2 separate regions of the Homo sapiens genome follow, and region 1 is linked to region 2. The links are contacts of gene promoters, found by promoter capture Hi-C in human tissues and cell types (Jung and others, 2019). All regions are on one chromosome and are shown on one strand. Each heading gives the region's core, a stretch centred on a gene start or on the middle of the fragment in contact. The rest is flanking DNA. Distances are from core to core; before and after follow the strand shown. Region 1 has its middle 82 kb from the start of YWHAZ. Region 2 holds the start of ZNF706 (zinc finger protein 706).

Evidence for each region. Contacts are between HindIII fragments. The study calls those that stand out against the background at their distance.
Region 1: a fragment that was not itself captured here is called in contact with the fragment with the promoter of ZNF706 in region 2 in 2 of the 25 tissues and cell types used here (dorsolateral prefrontal cortex and hippocampus).

The regions. Positions count from the first base shown.
Region 1 is chr8:100,867,809-100,872,392 of GRCh38, reverse strand. No RefSeq gene overlaps it. Among named protein-coding and RNA genes, the nearest start is that of YWHAZ, 82 kb to the left of the region's middle. RefSeq lists an enhancer at 2,509-3,708. The HindIII fragment of the contact is 4,224 bases long and covers 53-4,276 here.
Region 2 is chr8:101,202,438-101,207,169 of GRCh38, reverse strand. ZNF706 (zinc finger protein 706) reads left to right here and starts at 1,497. Exons shown (of 4, transcript NM_016096.5): 1 at 1,497-1,735. RefSeq lists silencers at 933-1,152, 1,363-1,962. The HindIII fragment of the contact is 7,281 bases long and covers 1-4,732 here.

The DNA.
Region 1 (4,584 bases), core at 915-3,414, 340 kb after region 2:
TACAAAAACCGCAATTTCCTTTGTGGAGAATCACTTGAACCCGTGAGGTGGAGGTTGTAGTGAGCTGAGATCTTGCCACTGCACCCCAGCCTGGGTGACAGAGCGGGACCCTGTCCCAAAATAAATACATAAATAAATAAAAAGAGATGAAGCTCCCCAAATGATCCCCATGGAGCCAAGGTTAGGAACCAAGATTCTGAGGGTGAGCGCTCTGGAGAAGGGGGCTGGGGGTGGGGGTTGGGGAGGGGAGGAAGGAGGCAGTGGCAGTGCTCCTCCCTGCTCTCCTTTCTGCAGGAATGAGTCCCCAGGTCGAAGCCACCCACCTGCCTCACCATGTGGGTTTAGGACCATCTTTGTCTCTGAAAGCAGCTCTAGAAGATGGGTTCCTGCCCCCAGTGCAGAAGCTCATGGAGACTGTGACATGACAGCTGGTGGGCTTCGTCCCTCCAGGAGTTCATTCCCCATCTCATTAACCTCTCAATGCCATTCCAGCCCTTCTCATGGATTGGCTTCCATAGAAATCAGAATAAAAATCCAAACTCACTAGAGGACCTACAAAACCCCTGCAATTCTCCAACCAGTTTCCTGGCCCTGTTCTCAGGGGTGTCCACCCTCCGGCTTGAGCCCTAAGCTCAGCCCATTCCTGCCACAGGGCCTTGGTCCTTCCCATCCACCCTGCTCTGCTCTCAGGTCTTTTTTTTCTTTCTTTCTTTTTTTTTTTTTTTTTTTTTTTTTGAGACAGGGTCTCTCTGTTGCCCAGGCTGGAGTGCAGTGGCGTTGATCTCAGCTCACCAGCTCACTGCAGCCTCAACCTCCTGGGCTCCCCCTTCAGCCTCCTGAGAAGCTGGGACTACAGGCATGTGCCACCACACCTGGCTAGTTTTTGTATTTTTTTGAAGAGATGGGGTCTCACCATGCTGCCCAGGCTGGTCTCAAACTCTTGAGCTCAAGTGATCTTCCTGCTTCGGCCTCCCAAAGTGCTGGCATTAGAGGCATGAGCCACCAAGCCCGGCCTTGCTCCCAGATCTTTCAGGGGCTTGCACGTTCTCCTCACTCATGACTCAGATCAAATCCACATCCCAGAGAAGCCTCCCCTGACCACTCTTGGGGGCTTTTTTCTCTTCCTCTTCCTCTCCCTCTCCTGTCCTATTGCTCTATCTCGTTTTCTTCATTGCACTTGCCACGATCTGAAATTATTATGTTTATACATTTATCACTTCTCTCCCCCAACAGCCGTGTAAGCTTCCTGAAGGCAGGGATTTTGTCTGTCAACAGACACAGCTGCATCCTCAATGCTTGAAAACTGAAGTACCACATGCTCGTGTTGAGTGAATGAGGGAGGTCAGACCTTGGCTCTTAATCTCTCTCTCTCCCTCCATCATCTACTGAGTCTGTGACTCAGGGTCAGTCACTTCAGCCTCTCTGAGCCTCAATTTTCCCATCTGTCAGTGGGAGAAATTTAGACCCTCCCAGGCTTCTTCCAGAGCTGCTAGCATGGTCCAATTGATTTTTGATGGACTTCAGCTGAAGCGTGCTCTTTAATGTGAAGGCTACTATCCTTGTGTCTGCAAAAGGGCCTTAACTTGTGAAGTGGCTTACATGTCCGATAGCAGGTCTAGTGAAGGTGGATATTCCAAAGAGATTGAGTGCTTCCAGGTCTTCAAATACTGTCCCCTAGGACACTGCCATCTCCAGTTACACAGAGCCAGCCAGTGGGCCACCTTCCAGCAGAGGCTGTATCAGCCAAGACAAGGGTGCTGTGATTTCTTTGGGGCCACCTGGTGAAATCTACACCAGCTGAACTGAGAGCAGAGGTGTGGCGGGGAAGGAGGTGCTCCCCTCCAACCTTCTGCCAGCCTCCAGCTGTGTGCCTTTGTCCCACCATGCACGTTCACACCGAGATGATGCTCCCCCAGGGCTGCTCCCAGCCACAACTGACAGGACAGAGACTGCGAGCTGGGTGTTTCTGTTCGAGGTGGGCAGCCTTTGCCTGGGGATTCCTAGTTGTCTGCGGAGGCTCCCTCAGAATGGCCCTGAATTCTGAGATTCTTCCTGTCCTATACTCCCCTTCCTAATCACCATTCACAGATGTCAGATCTGCACTGCGGCCAGAAGCCTCTCCCTGCCTCCTCCCAATTCCTCCCCTGCATCCTTGATGGGCACTTCCCTCCATATGTCTCTGGAACATCTAATCCCATTTTGGTATCTGCTTCGCAGAAGACTTAAACTGGCACGGAGGGGTTGAAAACAACTCTGATGGCCCCCTGTGGCCATAGTCTCCTGGTTCTGATTCAGGCCCTGTAACAGCTTGCAACATATACAATTTTAATAGGGGCATCATCGATTAGGAAACACCCTGTCTCCTCCTTCTTTAATGCAGTCTGGAGCAAGCTTGACTATAGGAATAGATATTGCTCTCCCAGATCAGAGCTGAGGGAGGCGGCCCACGGCCCTTGGTAGAGAAGTGTCATGGAAATCACAGAAACACATATTCTGGGAAGTCCCCCCTTTTCTAGAATCCACAGTGAACATATGCATCATTGTCTTCAAAGCCAGCTCATCCTTCAAGGAATGAGGAACTTGGCAGAGAGAATTGGAAATTACGACAAACTTGCCAAGTCGAACTAATCAATAATAGGATGCAAGAGGAAGTCAGGGAGGAGGAAGTAGCAATGCACTTAGAAGGAAAATGTGCCCAGTGGACAAGCTCCAGGACCCATTCCCGCTCATCATGTGAAAGTATTCATAAGTACCTAAGTGCAGAAAGTACTGCTCAGGGTGTTTGTCCAGAGCAAGTGAGAGACAAGACCACAGGACTTCACAGCAAGGGGCCTGGGAGCACATCTTCTAGTCCAATGGGTTTCAAATAGTTCCCCTCGAGTAACAGCAGGGATTTCCTGGAAGGAGAAGCAGGAGTCCCTAAGATGGGTCTCATTGCCCTCCCACCCTTCAACCAAGAAACACCTGCACCATGAAGGTTCTGTCTCTCAAACCCAAATCTGGAAACCACTGACCTAGTCTCATTCTTTCCTTTTATCCACAGAAAAACAGAAGTCTAGAGAGGTGGTGTGACTGGCTTTGAAGTGACACCACGAGTTAACCGCAAAGGTGGAAGGATTAGAGCCCTTGGCCCTAGTCCTGTTCTCTTTCAACCTCACAATCATGCCACCCCCTCAAGGACTTGGCTTCCCCAAAGTCACACAGCAGGAAAATGGCAGACTTGGACTTTGAACCCAAACCTTTGGACTCCTCCACATCCTTTGCTATTTCTGGTTTCCATTGCTTTGTTTTCTCTGTAGTGCCAAACACAGGACTGGGCAGATAGATGACAAATACTTTGGGAAATGCAATAAACTGACCGCAGTTCAAATAAATTGCAAGCACTGCAACATTGTTCTTCACTAAGTGCACATTGATCCAGCCAGGGAGCTTTTAAAAAGGAAATATTCATCCCCAGGCTCCAATGCACCACTTATACCAGAATCTCAGGGCAGGGCCTGGGCATCAGTATTTTTTAAAGTTCCCCAGGTGATTCTAGGGTGTAGCCAGGACTATGAATCATTGAATAGGACTGTTTAACACACCTGGCCCATCCCTACGTTGGCATTCTCCAAAAGAGAGTTTGAATGACACACCATCTGTGTAATCCACAGGCCCTTCTGTGCTCGCCTCAGCAGCAGGCAGGTCTCTCCCTCCCTCTCTCTCCCTCTGCCATATTGCCTCTTGATTTGGTCTTTATACTCATGGTGGTGACTAATTAATCCTCCTAGAACAATCAAAGAAGACCTAATTGTGGGTGAGCCATCTGGAGCTCCTCCTTGGTTGACTTGGACTTTAGGGAGGATGAGGAGAAGAAAGTGGGAAATGACTCACACTCCAGATGAAACACAAAATTGTATCTGTTCACAGACGGTTGTGGTGCTTGCGGCTGTAACTTTTCCTCCTGCTTCTCAATGGTTCCAGATGGTGCATTTTCTCTTTCTATACCTGCATGTCCATACTCACCCCCATAGACAGTGAGGCATGAATTCTCCAGGCTGCTCCTATTCCAGTTCGCAAAGTGAACTTGGTATTTCTTCCACAGAGTGTGCCTATAAAATGCGTTGTGAGGGCTAGAGTGCTCATTGACACAGTACTCTTATGGTAGAATTAACTTATATAGACAGGGAATGAGAGGGTAGAAGGAATCAATTAATTACCAAATATTTATTGAACACCTGCTTTGTATAAGACAGAGATGGTGCTAGAGCCCTGCCCAGATCCTCTTTCTGGGGTCGGGGTGCCTATCCCACTGCTGCTCTGCTGTGGTGGCTGCAGATGGCTCTCAGCTGCTGTCCTCTGGGGAGGAGAGCCTCAGCTGATGGGCAACCCTTCCCCAAAAAGTGGCACTCCTCAGGGTGGCTCACAGCCCACGAGTGGCTGACAGGAAGAACAGAATGCCAGCCCCTTGCCTCACACGGGGTGTGGTTTATGCTCCTCAAAATCAAAGCTACTTTGGGAGGCCGAGGCAAGAGGATCACTTGAGGCCAGGCATTCAAGACCAGCCTGGGAAACAAAGTGAGAGCCCTGCCAACTACCTTCTCT
Region 2 (4,732 bases), core at 248-2,747:
GTATTTTTCTCCACTCAAATGCAATAGGCAGCTAACTCCTTCCTGGCTAGTTTAAACAATTCTGTGGTATCTATAGCCCAGTCCAAGTCATTTGGGATATACTAATATTCAGCCAACATTTCCTGGGCACTGCCACGCAAACTTGGGAAACGGCACTACAGGCAAGGTGAGAACAGCCAATGCAAACACTTTTTTTTTTTCTCCTTTGTCACTAGTAGTTCTAATTAGAAACGAATGTGGCGGGGGTCGGGGGTAAGTATGCACAATAAAGCTGATGTCTAAAGTACTGTTTCCAGATATTCAGCAATTTTAATCATGGTTATAATCGCCATTGCTCTTGTCAGATATTGAAAGTTTGCTGCCACTGCCTGTAAATGGAGAGAGAGCGCGCGCAAAGAACTTTAACCATTCCCCGAAGGATTAGCAACTCAGTACCGTATATTGTTAGCAGTCAAACTAAACCCCTCCGGGAAGCCTGGCCAGCAATTTTTTTTTCTTTTTTTGTTTTTTTTTTTTTTTAGGCAGGGTCTCACTCAGTCGCCCAGGATGGAGTGCAATGGCGCGATCTCGGCTTACCGCAACCTTCACCTCCCGGCCTCAAGCGATTCTCCCACCTCAGCCTCCCGAGTAGCTGGGACTACAGGCGCGGGCCACCATGCTCCACTATTTATTTTATTTTATTTTATTTTTGTGGAGACGTGGGTCTCGCTATGTACTCAGGCTGGTCTGGAACTCCTGGGCTCAAGTGATCCTCCTGCCTTGGGCTCCCAAAGCGCTGAGATTACAGGCGTGAGCCACCGCGCCCGGCCTAGCCAGCAATTTTTAATACGACTTAGGCTTGAATCTTGAACTCACTAAAAGCCCCCAGCTTGGGAAAACACCTGGGGTTTCCATGGGAGTGAGGTAAAGGGCGGCTGTGAAAGAACAAAGGCTGTGCGTCCGCGTTCAGAGCCGCTGGGTCCGCCGGGCTCGCTGGGGGCCGGGGCCGCGGTGTCCTGGGTGGCGGGGCTCCGGGAATGTGACTCAGCCACCGCGGCCCCGCGATCCGCTCCCGGGCCAGCGCCTCAGTCGGTGCCGAGGAGGGCGGCGCCGAGACGGGCGCGTCAGCCTGGGAGGAGCGGGAAAAGGGTCGCAGCGCCTGAGGCCCGGCCGCCGCCCGAGTGGATGAGCGAGCGAGCGACTTGTGAAACACGCCGCGGCCCGGTCACCAACCAGGACCGGGATCACGTGGCTCCCAGGGCTGGGTGAAGAAGCCGCCCGGACCGAGCGCGCCGGAGAGGAGGGGCGCCTGGGGACAGAAGGCGACGTCCCCTGAAGTTTGTGTCAGCCAGGGCCCGCCCCCTCGCGCTTATGTAATAGGGGCGCGCTGCCATTGGCCCGCGCGACCAGCCAGGGCGCAGGCGTGCGAGCGGGGTGGGGGCCAGAAGGAGGCAGCCGCAGAAAGGCACATGGGCGGGGCTGCGAGGAGCAGGCGGGGCGGGGGCGCCGAGGAGAGCGGCGCGGCGTGCGCGGGCACGAGGCGTAGTGGTCTCCCCTAAGGCTGAGGCGGCGGCGGGCGCGCGGCGGCGGCGGGCGTGCGAGGCTGTTGTGCTCCCGGCTCTCGTGTTTCCCCTCCTGAGCGGGTGGAGGAGGCCCAAGCGGTGCTGGGCGCGCTCCCCCTTCCTTTCCCTCCGGCGTCCTCTCCCGGCCCTCTCGCGCTGCACTGTCTCTCCGACGCAAGACTGTCCCGGCCCGGGTGAGCGGCAGCGGGGGCGGTGCTGACGCCGCGGGACGCCCGGGAAACGGGGCGGGGGCCGGCCAGCGGGGGGCGGTGGGGACCGTGGGACTCGCCGCGGGTCGCGAGGGGTCGCGGGGGGCGGCAGGGCCCGGCCCGGGGCGGGCCGCGGGAAGGGGATGAGTTCGGGCGCCTGCCAGGCCCTGCAGGTGGCCGGGTCGCAGGCCAGCCGCGGAAGCGGAGCGGTAACCTTACCCCCGGCGACAGCCGCCGGTCAGCTGCCAGAGTGTGGCGCTCCCGGTGGACGCAGGGGCCGGGTTTCGGGCAGTCTCGGCCTCCAGGAGGCGCGTCTTGGTCCAGGGTCCGTGAGGACTGGCTAGATGGGGGCTGCGTGGCCTTTGGTGGCAGGGAGGAGGAGGGGGTCTCCGAGGCGGGAGAGGCGGGTTTGGGAAGGAAGGTGCGCCAGGCTGAAGCTGGGGTCGGAGAAGTGTTGGGTGGAGACCTCACTGTGGGTGCGTTCCTCCTCTCCTCTCCCCAAAACGATGGTGTTAAAAGCTAGGGTCAGGATGTGGAGCGCTGCCTGGGCCTCTTCCTTTCCGATGGTTATGGAGAATGAGCCTACTTCCTGGACCCAAAATCCTTTTCTTCTGTTACTCATTTATGTTGGTTTTAAAAGGAGCTTTGGGGCAGAGCTTACTTGTTGCCTCCTACGAGAGCGCCTCATTTTAGAACTCGTTTCTTCCACTACTTCCCTCTTTGCAGCCCCCTCGGAAAACCACACTGAGAGTTGCATTAAAAACCAGCATGTAGGTATTTGTAAGTGACTTTTTCCCTCCAGTTTGTCGCATTTAATCAAGGAGCGGTTGTAGCTGCCTACGATTTTGTAGAAAATTGTGTTGGCTTGAGAGCAAGTCCTAAGTTGAGCTGTCCAAAAGCAGGTGGTTGGTTCGTTTGAATTTCTGCTTTCAGAAAGGAAATCGATGGGGCGTGTTGTCAGAAGTTAGGGGCCTACCTCATGCATTTAGCTTATTTTATTCCATTTCCTTTACCTGGTGTTAAGTTTTCTGTCTTCAGAATAAGAACAAGTGACTACTGTCTTTATTAAGTCTCTTCGGTCTTTTTGGTTGCTGTTTGGTGACAATGGAAAATGGGTTGAATCTATTGTGTAATGTTATATTTTAGGGAAAGTCCTAAGTGCAAAAGTTAAAAATAATTTTGTGTGTCTAATGACATTGCTTTGTACGAGTCACAACATGGAAATATCAAAATAGCTAGTAACTTCTAGAAAGCAAAGGAACTTCTGAAATTAGTGGCTTACCATTTTTGAAGATTTTTTTTAACATAAAACAAGATTTCCCACAAAATCAGTGTATTAAGATACATAAAATACATTGTGTCGAAGAGTTAAGATGTGTGAGAAGACTGGCTATTTTGTTACAAGGTCCTGATAGTAAGACATTGAGACAAAAAACCTTGCAAAACATTGGTATACATAAAGGCTGATCACGTGACTACTGTCGTCCAAATAATACATAAGTATCCAAACCTGTTTCCATGGGAATAGGTTTGTAAGCTTGCGGTAACATCGGACTTAAATACACTTTTAAAAAAAATGTGCCATTTGGCTTAGAATTAATAATTTTTTTTAAAGCAAAAATGGAAGCTTAGTCTTCAAGGACTGATAACAGCTGGTAATATTTACCATTGTTTGGTGGGAATGGGGTTCTCATATTAGGCTAGCACGCTAAACATTTTCAATTACGAAAATGTATTAGGCTCGTGTGCTACCCTAATATAAAAACCCCATATTTCCTCAGTTGAAATAGTCAGCTGACTATCCTGAAAAGCATTGACCCTCTTTTATATTTTATCTGACTTTCAGTTCATTTTTTTAATGCTAGTGGGAACTTCTCCAATCAGTGTATTTTTTTAGTTTCCTTTTTTGGGGAACAGGAGGAGCTCAGTAATTTTTATGAAATGCTTTGACCTCATATCCATTAACTAATTATGGTCCTAGTCAGAAGAAGCTAGCACCCTTCCCTGGTGAAGTTGATACAAATCCATTGTATGTTCCTGTCCTGCAATGATTTACATTCAGTTACAGTACTAGTCAAAACTATATATATATGAATTCTACTTAGGATCCAATTTTGATATATTTAAAAAGCAATTGAGACTCATGATAGACTTTATGAGCAGGTTTAACTTGTGTGGTCGAATAAAAGCCTTTAATTTAAATGGAAAAGTAAAAGTAACTTTTTTCAGTGACTTGATTTTTTTTTTTGTTTTAATCCATTTGGGTTCACGTCAGATCATCGGTAACAAAAAGTGGTATCTTTCAGCTTTGTAAAAGAACCCTCTTAACCAAGTTCATTCCCTCAAATGGGAACTAACGTCTAGAGAGCAAAGAAACTTCTGGAATTAGTGGCTTGCTGATAATCTCATTTTATAATTTGTTCAGCAATCCAGCAAGACCAACTTTTTAAAAAAATTAATAACAGTAGTTTTATGAAAACTAAGTAAGAAAACAGTTTCCACCTATTTCTGAGGTCTCCTTTAGAAGGAGTAACAGACAGCTTTTATTTCTCTTAAAGTTATAAAAATCACAATCGCAAGTCACAATGAATACTGGGAAGGGAAATTACTTTTGCAGAGTGATCAAGTAAATGATAGCGGGGGCTAAACTTTTTTAGTAAACTTGTGAAGATTACATACAGTAAAGTGCATAAATCTTGAGTGTACAATTCAATGAATTTTTATAAGTAAACACACTTGATTCAAGAACATTTTCAGGACCCCATAAGTCCCCTTCATGTCCTGTCTTCCCAGTCATTACCCATAACCCCCAAGGTGACCCCTTTCACTATAGATTAGCTTTGCCTGTTTTGAACTTTAAATAATGTATATTCCCCACAACTGGCTTCTTTCCTTTAACATTGAGATACAACCAAGTTGTTACTTGTAACAATTTTTTGTTTGTGTGTTTGTTTATTTATTTTTGAGACCAGAGTCTCACTG